Regions from separate parts of the Homo sapiens genome. Here region 1 is linked to region 2. Evidence: promoter capture Hi-C in 16 types of primary human blood cells and fetal thymus (Javierre and others, 2016). All regions are on one chromosome and are shown on one strand. The core of a region is centred on a gene start or on the middle of the fragment in contact, and the rest is flanking DNA. Distances in the headings are between cores, read along the strand shown. Region 1 overlaps STK10 (serine/threonine kinase 10). Region 2 holds the start of UBTD2 (ubiquitin domain containing 2).

The links. Contacts are between HindIII fragments. The CHiCAGO score rates a contact against its expected background, and 5 or more counts as called.
Region 1: a fragment that was not itself captured here is called in contact with the fragment with the promoter of UBTD2 in region 2 in 1 of 17 cell types (activated CD4 T cells); the score reaches 6.6 in activated CD4 T cells.

What each region holds. Positions count from the first base shown.
Region 1 is chr5:172,129,301-172,136,051 of GRCh38, reverse strand. All of the region lies in intron 2 of STK10 (serine/threonine kinase 10), which reads left to right. Among named protein-coding and RNA genes, the nearest start is that of STK10, 56 kb to the left of the region's middle. The HindIII fragment of the contact is 6,680 bases long and covers 1,690-6,751 here.
Region 2 is chr5:172,279,439-172,286,881 of GRCh38, reverse strand. UBTD2 (ubiquitin domain containing 2) reads left to right here and starts at 3,118. Exons shown (of 3, transcript NM_152277.3): 1 at 3,118-3,286. The coding sequence starts at 3,217. LOC100288254 (a long non-coding RNA gene) reads right to left here and starts at 1,285. Exons shown (of 2, transcript NR_130933.1): 1 at 1,127-1,285. RefSeq lists enhancers at 1,841-2,440, 2,441-3,041 and a silencer at 2,616-3,525. The HindIII fragment of the contact is 4,236 bases long and covers 1,860-6,095 here.

The DNA.
Region 1 (6,751 bases), core at 3,780-6,279, 150 kb after region 2:
GTTTGTTTGTTTATTTATTTATTTTGAGACAGAGTCTCACTCTGTTGCCTAGGCTGGAGTGCAGTGGTGTGATCTCGGCTCACTGCAACCTCCACCTCCTGGGTTCAAGCGATTCTCATACCTCAGCCACCCAAGTAGCTGGGATTACAGGCGTGTGCCACCAAGCCTGGCAAATTTTTGTATTTTTAGTAGAGACAGGGTTTCTCTATGTTGGCCAGGCTGGTCTTGAATGCCTGACCTCAGGTGATCCACCCCAAAGCACTGGGATTATAGGCGTGAGCCAACGTGCCTGGCCATAATTTGAGTTTTTAACTTAGTCTGTTTAGCTAATGAACATATTTTAAAAATTCTTTTGGATCTATATGTAGGAGGGAATTGCCATTTGGATCAATAGTAATGCTACGTTTAACATATTGAGGAACTGCCGGACTCTCCCAAAGTGCCTGGACTGCACATTTTACATTACCACCATCAGTGTATGAAGGTTCCAATTTCTCCATATTCCTGCCAACACTTACTGTTGTTTATCTTTTGTTTTTTGAGATGGAGTCTCGCTCTGTCTCCCAGGCTGGAGTGCAGTGACGTGATCTTGGCTCACTGCAACCTCCGCCTCCCAGGTTCAAATGATTCTTTTGTCTCAGCCTCCTAAGTAACTGGGACTACAGGCGTGTGCCACCACACCTGGCTAACTTTTGTATTTTTATTAGAGACAGGGTTTCACTATGTCGGCCAGGCTGTCTCAAACTCCTGACCTCAGGTGATCCACCCACCTCAGCCTCCCAAAGTGCTGGGATCACAGACGTGAGCCACCGTGCCCAGCCTTGTTCATGTTTTTAATTCTGAGCATTCTAGCATGTGTGAAGTGGTATCTCATTTTGGTTTTGATTAGTGTTGCCCTAATGACTAGTAATGTTGAGCATCTTTTCATATGCTTAGTGGCCATTTGTACATCTTCTTTGGAAAAACATCTATTCAAATCTTTTGCCTATTTTAAGATTGGGTTATTTGCTCTTTTATTTTTGAGTGCTATGAGTTCTTTATGTATTCTGGATACTAGTCCTTTATCAGATATATGATTTGCAAATATTTTCCATTTGTGGGTTACTTTTTCTTTTTCTTTTTTTTTTTGAGATAAAGTCTTGTTCTTTCTCCCAGGCTGGCGTGCAGTGTCACAATTATTGCACGCTGCATTCTCGACCTCCCAAGCTCAAATGATCCTTCCACCTCAGCCCCCCAAGTATCTGGGACCACAGGTGTGTGCCACCATACCCCGCTAATGAAAATTTTTTTCCTTTTTTTTTTTTTTGTAAATATGAGGTCTCCCTATGTTGCCCAGGCTGGTCTCAAACTCCTGGGCTCAAGTGATCCTCCCATCTCAGCCTCCCAGAATGCTGAGATTACAGGCGTGAGCCATTGTACCCAGCCTTTACTTTCTTGATACTGTCCTTTGATGCACAAATATGTTCAATGTTGATGAAGTCCAGGGTATCTATTTTTTCTTTGGTTGCTTGTGCTTTTGGTGTCATTTTTGTCCATCTGGTCTTTTACTAACCCCCATATACCCTTTGACACATATTTAGAGGTCCTCAAAATTTTTATTTAAAGATGGGAGGATATGGAAATATTTTTTTAAAAAACTCATTGAAACAGACTGCAGTACGGTCTTTAATAATGAAGATCCCCAAAGCTTCTGTGTGAATACTCAGGGCTTCTCAAACCATCTCTTGGTAAAGGCTGATGAGGATGATCATACATCCTACCAAAGCCCCTCACTCTTTGGTTTGAGGCAAGATAAAAAGGAACACTGGTGATGAAATTTAGGATAACAAGGAGCATAAAAGAGGCAGTACTTCTGCCAGTTTGCCCCCAAGTTTCTCTACCAACATCTTACAGTGCCTTTTGTTAAGGGGAGGACAGATGTGGTCCCAGGGTCCAGGCCTCTTGCTCTTATAAATTCCCATTGAGCAGTAGTTCTCAAAGTGTGACCAGGGGTCCAGCAACAGCAGCAGCATCTGAGCACTTGTTGGAAACCAGATTCTTGGACCTTGCTTCAGACCCACTGAATCAGAAGCTCTGGAGTGGGACCCAGTGATCTGTTTTAACAAGCACTCTGCTGAACGTTCAAGTTGGAGAGCCGTTGGTGTAGCATTTTCAGCTGGTACAACCTGGAGTCTGCCACCTGGAGAGTGTGGTTACTCATCATCTCCTGCCAAGCGTGGGATCAGGTACTTTTGGTAACAAGTGACAGCAAACCTTAAACTAACCTACTAAACAGCGCAGAAATTAATTCGTTTGCATATTCTGCCTAAAAAGTCAGTAGGGAGCAGGCTTGTTCTCCGTTTTCCTGTGATTCTCTCTGTCTTCCTCTGTGTATTAGCTTTGTCTTCACACCCACTTCTCTCGTGGTTGCAACATGGTTTCCTGCAACCATCAGAGTTGTGTGCTTCCTAATTAGCTCCAGAGTGAGACGACGTGGCATTCCACACCATCAAGCACAACTCACCAGCTTAGCTCTGATGACACCAGCCCTGAGTCAGGGCACGAGGCAGAAAATTTTCCTGACTGGCTTAGCACCCTGCTTCTACCCCTCCCTTGCAGGGGATGAGTAAGTCCTACCCAGTTCTCATGGCTATTTCACAAAGGGGAAGGAAGACATGGTGTATGTGGAGGGGGAGGTAGCCATGGTGCCCAGGACATCAGGACTCATGAAATGGCCTCTTCGCTGTTTGTCCCCAACCCACTGTTTTTTCCTTAATAATGCATCTAGAGGGATCTTTCCAAAGCAAAAGCCTGTCTACAACACCTCTTGCTTAAACCCTTTGGTGTATCTCCCCAGACACACACGCACACACGCACACACAGCTCTCCAGATTAGGTTCATACTTTGAGATGTTCAAGTTCTAGTTCTAATTGACCTCCAGCCTGCTGGATTCCCATCCTTTGGAACCCCATGGAATGCTCCGCCATTACCCGCTTCCACGCTTTTCCCTGCTGCCCCACCTCTGCTTCTGTGTTCTGCCAGGAGTGCCTTTACCCTTCCCCACGTGGTAAATTCACCCTTCAAAACTCAGCCTGGATATCTGCTTCCTCTGGGATAGCTCTAAGGCAGGTTAATGACCGTGTCCACAGGCTTCTGGGTTACATAGTCACCGTGTGCCTGCACCACTCATTTCTATATCTCCCTCAGCTGGTGATTTTGGGGCAGGGACCTGTTTGATTCTCCCTGGGTCCTCAGTCCCCAGGCTTGCCACGCACTAGGAGCTCAGATAGTGTTTGTTGATCACATACTACTTTTGTGTCCCCTACTGTTGCCTAGCAAAGTAGGGCCCCTGGTAGACACTCAGTTTATAATGATCAATGCATTAAACTGACCACAAATCTCAGTTCTTCAGGTCCTAGGAAAACCGTGAGCCACCTGCAAATATAGGCTGCTTATGCCCTTGACAGGTTCAGGGAATCCGTCCTTTTAGCACTGGGGCGGTTTCACTTTGGACTTGATCAGGGCTTAGAGGCCTTTAGCTTTCCGATCCTGAGGAGCCTCCCTTTATCCAGGAAGCAGGGGACTGGACCACTGGGACCTTCATCACGGGTGGGCACGGATTCCCCATCCCAATCAGAAGAATAGCTGTATCTGTAGCAGTAGGTTATTCTAGGCCAGTTCTTTCCATTAAAAAAAAACTAAAGCCCCTAGGTTGAATTAAAAAAATTAAAAAAATTAAAAATTTAAAAGTCATGTTTATTTCTAATATACAATTTGATAATACATATTTATTGAATATAATACATAAAAGTACAAACTACCTGTAATCCTCCTATGGGTTTTGTGCTTCCAGTCTTTTTTCTAAGCATGCATATGTAGTAATTTCCTAAAGCATTGAGATTATTATTTTATTCATATTTATTACCATCGTCTCAGTGCATTTTATGCTGCTATAACAGAATACCTGACACTGGGTAATTTGTAAACAATAGAAATTTATCTAGCTCATGGCTCTGGAGGCTGGGAAGTCCAAGGTTGAGGGCCCTGCATCTGGCGAGGGCCTTCTTGCCATCGTGGAAGGTGGAAAGAGCAAGAGGGCATGCAGGAGAGAGCCAGCAACTGAACTCACAGCCTCTAGCCCTTTTATAATCAGCACTAATTCATTCATGAGGGTGGAGCCCTCATGGTCTAAACACCTCCCATTACTGTTGGTCCCACCTCCCAACACTGTTACATTGGGGATTAAGTTTCCAACACATGCCTTTTGGGAGATACATTCAACTATTATTTTATCTGTTACTGTTGAGACTATTGTTTTATTAATTAAACCCCATGTATTTCTGCAAAAAGCCCTGACAAGTTTATAATACCAATCCCCTGTAGCCCTCCTGCCACTGATAAGCTGAAGGTAAAAATGTTAAGACCCAGATACTAAAAAAAGCAAGTAAGGCCTGGGAGTCAAACCAAAGCTGAGGAACTTAACCCAGAGCTTCCCAGCAGCCAAGGCAAAAAAATAAATAAATAAAAGGGAAGCTCAAGGGGTTGTGGAGCTCTTGAACTAAAGAAGAGGAAGCAAGCCAGGTTGTCAGAATGCACGAGCTTTCCTGGTGCTGACCTCTGGAGAGGGCACAGGGACGTTGTATAAGAGTGTTGTGTAAGGGACAGTTTCACTGAAAGATGCAGGAACTGCCTGGGTTTGGTCACTTCTCATACTGACTCTTAAGAATAGCTGATGACAGGCCAGGCGCGGGGGCTCACGCCTGTAATCCCAGCACTTTGGGAGGCTGAGGCAGGCAGATCGCGAGGTCAGGAGATCGAGACCATCCTGGCTAACACGGTGAAACCCTGCCTCTACCAAAAAATACAAAAAATTAGCCGGATGTGGTGGCGGGCGCCTGTAGTCCCAGCTACTCGGGAGGCTGAGGCAGGAGAATGGCGTGAACCTGGGAGGCGGAGCTTGCAGTGAGCCAAGATCGCGCCACTGCACTCCAGCCTGGGCAACAGAGTGAGACTCTGTCAAAAAAAAAAAAAAAAAAAAACAGCTGATGGCATGTCCATAACTTTTAGTTCTCAAAAATAAATAAATACATAAAGAAATTGTAGTTCTGGGAAGACATTTCTTTGTTTTGTTTTGTTTTCCCTAGGAATCAGACTGAGAGGAAGGCATATTTTTGTAGGAATCCTAAGTGACGTGATCTAAGCATGAAACTTACTGGTGATTTCATTTGGTAGAGATTTAACAAACACATATTAACTGTGTGGCTTTTGTGCTGTTCTTTCATGTAAGGAATCTCATTTAACTTTCTCAATGAAGTTGGAGGCAAGAGATGATTAGGCCATTTTACAGATGGGGAAATGGAGGCTCAGGGAGATTGACTTATCCAGGGTCATGTAGTCAATTAAGTGGCACACCAGGACTCGACCCCAGGTTTACAATCTTTTCCTCTGTGTTGGCACCTTGTTGGAGAAGCGGGAAGTGTCTGACCTTGTTACATATCCACGGTGTATTAGGACTGGGTTTTTCGGTTTTTTTTTTTTTTGGAGACAGAGTCTTGCTCTGTCACCCAGACTGGAATGCTGTGGTGTGATCTCCGCTCACTGCAGCCTCCGCCTCCTGGGTTCAAGTGATTCTCCTGCCTCCGCCTCCCAAGTAGCTGGGATTACAGGTGCCCGCCACCACACCTGGCTACTTTTTGTATTTTTAGTGGAGACGGGGTTTTGCCATTTTGGCCAGGCTGGTCTCGAACTCCTGACCTCAGGTGATCTGCCTGCCTCATCTTCCCAATATGCTGGGATTACAAGAGTGAGTCACTGCCCCCAGCCTAGGACTAGGTCTTTATAAGTACCACCTCATCTGTTCCTTACAGTAAATCCTAGAGCCACGTAATATTAGCCCATTTTACGGAGAGGATTGGCGGTTGTCCAAGGCCATACAGATGGTAGGTGTTAGGGAGGCTAACCAGGGGTTCCCAGCCAGGGTTTGGTGATGGAACTTCAGGATGTGGAAGGATTCAATAGAATGGCACAGGAACATTTCTGGGTGAGAGGGGAGAGGATGGCTTTCACAGAGCCTCAAAAAACCCAAACAAAAATAAATGAGAAAAACAGACCCATGAACTCAAGGAAAGAATCATAGTGACAGCTCACATAACTGAGTCCCGACCTGGGGCCAGGCACGTGTCAAGGCCTGGATGAGCTTATCATTCCCATGAGGGTTAGGGTGTATCATCCCCATCTCACAGGTCGCCCAGCTAGTAAGTGGCCTTGCATGGTCACTGAGTTTTGCTTCTTTTCCATCATCACCTCTTGTGGCTTGTTTTTTTTCTAGCAGTTAGTAGAATTTTTCTTCCTCTTTCGTGGAGCTGAGAATTACTACAAGGCAGAATGATATGCTGTGCTTCAAAAGGTCATTGCCTGTTTCCAAGTCACCTCTGTCTGTTCCCTTGCCACTGGGAACAAGCTGGTTAGGTGGTGGTTGGGTAAGAGGGAACAAATGAATGGACGAATGAATGAATGAACAAGTGGATGGAGGAAGTACCTCTTCCTTGGCGTTCGGGATCAGCATGCATGGATCCATTTCTGATGACTTTTATTCAAGGGTGACAGGTCACTGTAGTGTTAGAGAGAAGTCTTGGGGAAGCTGAGGTCAGGCCCGTTGTTGATGACCAGGCAGGACCAGAGTGACCCAGAAGGCCTCCTTCCTCCTCAGCAGGGAGTGGTGTGGAAGTGGGCCGTGCCGCCTTCCACAGCTCTCTGCCGTGGCACACAGCC
Region 2 (7,443 bases), core at 1,869-4,368:
GGAGTCTCACTCTATCGCCCAGGTTGGAGTGCAGTGGCAAGATCTCAGCTCACTACAACCTCCGCCCTCCGGGTTCAAGCTATTCTTCTGCCTCAAACTCCCAAGTAGCTGGGACTACAGGTGCGAGCCACCACGCCTGGCTAATTTTTTTTTTTTTTTTTTTTTTTTTGAGATGGAGTCTCGCTCTGTTGCCCAGGCTGGAGTGCAGTGGCGCGATCTCTGCTCACTACAAGCTCCGCCTTCCGGGTTCACGCCATTCTCCTGCCTCAGCCTCCTGAGTAGCTGGGACTACAGGCGCCTGCCACCACGCCCGGCTAATTTTTTGTATTTTTAGTAGAGACGGGGTTTCACCATGTTAGCCAGGATGGTCTCGATCTCCTGACCTTGTGATCCGCCTGCCTCAGCCTCCCAAAATGCTGGGATTACAGGCATGAGGCACCACGCCCAGCCTAATTTTTGTATTTTTAATAGAGATGGGATTTCACCATATTGGCCAGGCTGGCCTCCAACTCCTGACCTCGTGATCCGCCCGCCTCGGCCTCCCAGAGTGCTAGGATTACAGGCATGAACCACCGTGCCCGGCCAAACTTTCTTTTTTCTTTTTTTGAGACAGGGTCTCGCTCTGTCACCCACACTGGAGTGCAGTGGCGCGATCACAGCTTACTGTAGCCTCCACCTCTCTGGATTCAGGTAATTCTCCCACCTCAGCCCCCTGAGTAGCTGGGACTACAGGCGCTCACCACCACGCCCCGCTAATTTTTAAAATTTTTTCGTAGAGACAGGGTCTCCCTATGTTGCTCAGGCTGGTCTGAAACAGCTGGGCTCAAGTGAGCTTCCCACCTCAGCCTCCCAAGGTGCTGGGATCACAGGCGTGAGCCACCATGTCTGGCAGAAACTTCAGACCATATAGCTAGTACACGATGAAAGCCAGATTCCAATCCAGGAAGTTAATCGCCAAGCTGGGGCCCTGACTGCGACACTACTCTGCCTCCTGGGAAATGTGTCTCTAAGATAAAGGCAGGGTGGAGAACATCTATTGCTGAGAATCTCTCCCCGAGATTGCTCTCTCTTCCTAGTGCCAACTCCTCAGTGCTCATCGGAGAGCCCTCATCATTTGGGTGCCTACCATCTGTTTAATAGACATCGTGGAAGTCTTGGTTTCTGCAATTTCTAGAGTGAAATTCAGGACAAAGCAATCTCTTTGCAAATATTCGGCATGCAGCTTCTCTTCTTCAGGGAAGTGATGAAGTGATGTGTCTGCCAACGTGTATAGTTAGTTGAAAATGATCAGACAGAAGGCTTTGTGACACAGCCCCTGATGTCAGAGCAACCTCTGAAAACTCATAATAACATCGATGGCATAAGCTCTTTTTGGAATGTTCAGGACCACAACTGAGGACAATACTAATTCTTCAGGATGAGTTTAATATAGCAGATTTCTATATCTCACGACATTTCTGTGTTTTAACCTAAGTGTAGGTTTTGCTTGTCTACTGTCTTTTTATCAAATGAATACAGAGATCTAAATCTTTGTATAATAGCTTGATCTATTTCTGTGAGCTAGATTTCCAGATGTGGAATAATCCCGAGTCAAAGGATATGAACATTTTTAAGGCTCTTGATCTGCATTGCCAAATTGCTTTGCAAAAAAGATTGAACCAATTTACACTCCCACCAGCAATGTATGAGAATATATTTAAATGCAAATCCCAAGCTGCAGAGCATCTCTTTCTTAGGTATTTCAACTTAAAAAATTTTTTTTCGTGCTAAGCAAAAGCTGACCCAGGATGTTAAAAAAAGAAAGTCTGATATAAAAATGGAGCAGATAGTTAAAACAGCTTCTTAGGCAGAAATAAGCTTTAGAAAGTCCCAAGCAGGATGATAACAATTTTAAGGCATCATAGCACGAAGCACAATTCTAAAGGGACCATTAACAATTTGGCTGAGATTGGAAAAGTAACCGCCAAGAATGTTGGGCGTGGTCAATGTCCCAAATTCTAGATTCGAAAAGGCAGGGTGTTTCACTCATTTACACTTCACTTTGGCCTAAGGACGATTTAAGATACCCAAAGGCAGGATCTTGATAAGTAGTATTGTTTGAATCATTAATCCCGTGAAAATGAAAGAAACCCACGCCCCCTGAACTAAGGTCAGCGTTTATCTCTTCTTTCCAGGCGTTCCATCAGGACGCCTCGCCTCTAATCTCAGTTTGGTTTGCCACAACCACTGCCTCCACCCCTAATAATGGGGCCCCATGATTTTAGGGAAGACGGGGGTGGGCAGGCAAGAGGAAGCCCAGATTCGGGGTACCAACCCACGGAGCGCCATACAAATTCAAAGGGCGCTGGGACCTCAACGTTCGGCCAGGACACTCTCCCCCGAGCCCCCGTTATTTGGGAAACCGCCCCGTCCCCGCCTGCGAGTCTTCCACGACTACTTCTCGGTTCCCCCGTGCGACCCGCTTCCACCAGCAAGAAGGAGCCGACGGCCGAGGAGCCAGGAACTCGATTTCGCCCCTTCCCACTCCTCTTTTCTCACTTTTGTTCGGCTTTTTCCTGCTTTCCCTCCCTTCTTCCCTCTCCTTTCTTCTTCCCGTCCTCCCTCTCTCCTCCTCCCCTCGCCTCCAGTCCTCCCCCCGCCTGCAGTCCTCCCCCCACCTAGCCCCCTGCGTCCCCTCCCCCGCCTCACCCTCGCCCCGCTCCGCTCGCAGCCCCGCCCGCAGCCAATCAGAGCGCGGCCTCCGGTGGCCCCGCCCTTCTCCGGCGATTCCGGGCGGGCCGGGCCGAGCCCAGGCCGTGGGTGCGGAGGGCGGCGCCGCGGGCCGGGGGCCGATGGGTCCTGGCGGACGCGAGGCGCCGGCGCGGGGCTCGCCTGGACTCGGGTGTGCGGGGCTGTGAGGGGGCGAGGCGGGCGCTGCGGCCCGCCCGGGATGGGCCAGCCCTGGCCTGGCGGGGCTGAGCCGAAGGCGAGGGCGGCGCGCGGGCCAGGCCTGCCGGGCGGGCGGCCCGGGGGTTGAGGTAGAAGTGGGCGCGGAGGAAGGGGCCGAGCCAAGGCGGTGGGTGGAGCGGCGAGGGGGGCGGAGGCTGGGCCGCGGCGGGCGAGCGGAGCGGCGCGCCTGTCCGGAGCTCGGCGGTGGCGCCGGAGGAGGCTGCAGCGGCGGCGGCGGCGGGCCCGGACGAGCGTCCGGAGGTGGCGGACGAGGCGCCGGGGGCCCCCATGGGCGGGTGTGTGGGCGCCCAGCACGACTCCTCGGGCAGCCTCAACGAGAACTCGGAGGGCACCGGAGGTAGGTGAGCGCCAGGGGGCAGCCTCGGCCCCCCATTGTTCCCGGCCAGGCCCGGCCACCTGTCCCGACCCCCGCGGGCCGCGCCGGGCCCCCGCGCCCCTTTGTCATCCCCTCTTCCACGTCATTCCCCGCGCTCCGCTTCCGGCTGTCCTGCCAGCCGCGGGGGTCGCCCCTTCCCGCCCCAGCCCTGAAGAAAAGTCCTCTGAGCGCCGGGGACGTAGCCCTTGGCCTCGCCGACCGCCCCGCTCGGCTCGGGGAAGTCGGACCCGAAGCTGCCCTTCTGGCCACCTCACTCCCTCTCCAGGCCGTTTAATTATTGAGGATCAGGATGGCGGCGCCGGGGTTGCAGAAAAGCGAATTGATGGCGGGGGGAGGGAGCTTGATGCGTTCCCTCCGACGGGCCCCGCCACATCTTTCCGCACCCTTCCTTGTTCTGTGGAGTTGGCTGGTCTCAGCTTTCCTGAGTTTCAGATGACAGCTGCCCCGGTTGGTTCCAGATTGGCCATTTAAACCTGCGAGTTTCTGGAGCTCGGCTGGAGGAGTCTCCAGTGGCCGCAGGCATTGTATTAAGGAGGGGTGGGGAAACGGTCTTCCCGGGTAAAACGTGGCTCCTAGCTAGAGCTTGGGGGTGTTAGGCCGGTGTGCTGTCGGGGTGGGCTAATCACATTCCCATCTGTCTTACGTAGAAGGAAAATATGTAGGATAAAAGTACAAGTGCAGTTGGACCCTGACTTACCCCACCCAGTAAGATCAGTACTTTAAAAGTTTTCTAACACGGGAACGCACTCCTACTTTATAGTAAAAGCGTGCTGAGGATAGGTATTTTAATTCAATCAGTAGTAGTTGTAGTATGGCAGTATAATAATAAAATTAGTTCTATCTTTATTTAAGTGACCTTTGGTTACGTCCATTCTGTAGAATATTTTAGTGATAAACAGCCTTTAGGCAAAGATGACAGCGTTGGTTTGATTTGTGACCTAATGTTAGCTGCCTTAAAATGTGCATGTCTGTAAATTTTTAAATTGTTTGGGTATGGGAGGGTTTACAACTTTTTCGTAGCATACTAACATTTAGACCAGTTGCTTGCCCTGTCACTTAAGCTCTCTTCACAAACCATGTACACCTAAGTTTTTTGGCTAATGGATTTCCTGAATTCCATGATGGTTAGCCATGCCACTTTATTAAAATCTGTGGGTATCCTGTATGACTAAATCCTGGGTAAATAACTTGAGAACTCAGTGGAAGTTGTCTTGAAAAAGTCCATGAAAATGCTACTTTATAGTGTATTTTATGTCGTAGCATTATTACTGGCATATTGAGATCCTCAGTGACAACAAAGCAGGAAGATAAAAAGGGCACGATTTAAAACAGCCTTGGGTTAAGGTGAAATTGAAGGATCAAAATGAATCTTCCTCTAATTGTGTTGATCATTAATGATTCTGAAATATATTAGTATTTGTTATCGCTAGTGTTTAGTTTTAATTAAATTTTTTTCACACTCATTTTAATATTGTCATAAGCATTTTGCTCTTCTCCGTAATGTATGTGGATTAATTTATTTAAGCCTTTTGGTAGTGTGACTTATGACCAGACAGGCATTATTAATATGGGCTTTAAAAAGCGTGAAATCTTAGCTTTGGGTAATTTATTACCGGTGGTATCCAGTTAGATAGCTATAGTATCAGTTTCTTTGAGGACTGAGTTCTCTGGACCGTAAGCTCTGCTGTACATGAAGTTTAGAAAAAGGAACATTAACCACCAAACGTCTTTATTTTCTTTTGGAGAGAGGACATGGGCCCTGATGTAACTGGGGTCAGGGAAGAGGCTCTTGTACTAAAAGGATTATTTCTGGAATTTGATTATGGACGCTTTTATTCTCCATTATTGTCATGATAATTAAGAGTTAATTGTGGTTTAGTGAAATTAACTCAGGTGTGTTGCAGGTTAACATATAAAAAAAATTATTGCTTAATAAGTAGATTGTTGGGAAGGGAAAGACTTTTTCCTAAGGGTGTTGGCACAGATCCCTAGCTTTTCAAACATACTGTGGTAGTGAGTTAGGTTTGGGGGATGTGTGGAGGGCTTGGTTTGGTTTCTCGAGACAGGTTCTTGCTTTATCGCCCAAGCTGGAGTGCAGTGCCAGATCACAGCTCACTGCAGCCTTGACCTCCCAGGTACAAGTGATCCTTCTACCTCAGCCTCCCAAGTAACTGGGACCACGAGGTGCATGCCACCGCACCCGGCTAATTTTTAAAAAATTTTTAGTAGAGGTGGGTTTTGCCGTGTTTTTAATCTGAATGTGTTGGGTTATGAAAGTTGTTTTATCAACATGGAGTCTTCACATGCTTCTTACAACGGATTTAAACTTTCCATGACAGATTTAATTACATTCACCAACCAGGCGGGGTGGCTCATGCCTGTAATCCCAGCACTTTGGGATGATGAGGCGAGAGGATTGCTTGAGCCCCAGGAGTTGGAGACCAGCCCAGGCAACATAGTGAGACTCTGTCTTTAAAAAAATAAACAAAATAATTACATTCACAGTGTTGTGCAAACATCACCATTTTAGAATAGCTTGACCCTTTCTAAATATCAGCCAGCCTTAGTAAGAAAAAGATTTTAAAAAAATCTTTTGACCATTTGAAATACTATACTTTCCTTTTTCCCTCTGAATCCATCTCTTATGTATGCAAGTAATTATGTGTATATCAATAAAACCTTCCTTATTAGGTGTATTCTTTGAAGGAATTTGGGAGATTTTTATAAGAGACTGTAGAATATGGAAGTGGCTTAATTCACATTATAAGCTTTGCATTATCTATTGTTTTGGGATTAATTGTTGTATTTTCCTTTGGCATATACCTTGCCTAGAATTTAGTTCTTGAGCTCCAGCTACTTAGGCTTTTTTCAAATAAAAAAACTTTTATTTTTATATTTTGTTATTGAGATAGTATCTTGCTCTGTCACCCAGGCTGAAGTACTGTGGCATGATCATAGATTACTGCAGCCTTGAACTCTTGGGCTCAGGCAGTCCTCTGGCCTCAGCCACATGAGTAGTTAGGCTGGTTTTTTTTTTTTTTTTTTTTGAGATGGAGTCTTGCTCTGTCGCCCAGGCTGCGGTACAGTGGCACGATCTCTGCTCACTGCAGCCTCTGCCTCCCAGGTTCAAGAGATTCTCCTACCTTAGCCTCCAGAGTAGCTGGGATTACGGGTGCCCACCACCATGCCCAGCTAATTTGTTGGTATTTTTAGTAGAGACGGGGTTTCACCAGGTTGGCCTGGCTGGTCTTGAACTCCTGACCTTTAAGTAATCCGCCCACCTGTGCTTCCCAAAGTGTTGGGATTACAGGTGTGAGCGACTGTGCCCAGCCTTTTTTTTTTAATGCCTACTTTTAATCAAGACAGGTATGTCATAGAAGTTATGTAAGATTATTTAACAGTTCTAAGCTTCCATGCTCCTAGAATTTCCCATTGTTTTGACTTTTTTTTTTTTGAGACGTCGTTTCACTCTTGTTGCCCAGGCTGGAATGCAATGGCACGATCTCAGCTCACTGCAAACTCCGCCCTCCCGGGTTCAAGCAGTTCTCCTGCCTCAGCCTCCCAAGTAGCTGGCATTACCGGCGTGCGCCACCGTGCCTGGCTAATTTCATATTTTTAGTGGAGATGGGGTTTCACCGTGTTGGTCAGGCTGGTCTTGAACTCCTGACTTCACGTGAGCCACCTCGCCCAGCCTGTTTTGACATTTTCAGACATTCTGTATGGTTCTCCGCCGTACTAGAATGACATTGTGATGCTGGAGTTGGCATTTAGGACCTCTAGACAAGCCTTTAGCCATGACATTTGCTAAGGAATTAAATCCTTTATGATTTTTTGAAATAAATATGTGGGCAGAAAATCCAATAAAATTGTATTAATTGAAGACAACCAACAACCTTTTCTTTCTTCACCTCTTTAATGAAAGTATAGTGATGTACAAAGTAACTTCTCACTTTCTGAGTGTGTCATTTATTTTGTGCATTCAGTGATATCCTAAGAGAACTGACCGTGGTGGTCACAAGTTTCCAGGTTTACAGAGAATAACTGAATGCTGGACATTCATTCCTTTAGTCTCTATTCCAGAATGTCTTGAGAACATCATGGAGTTCTTTCAGATACCC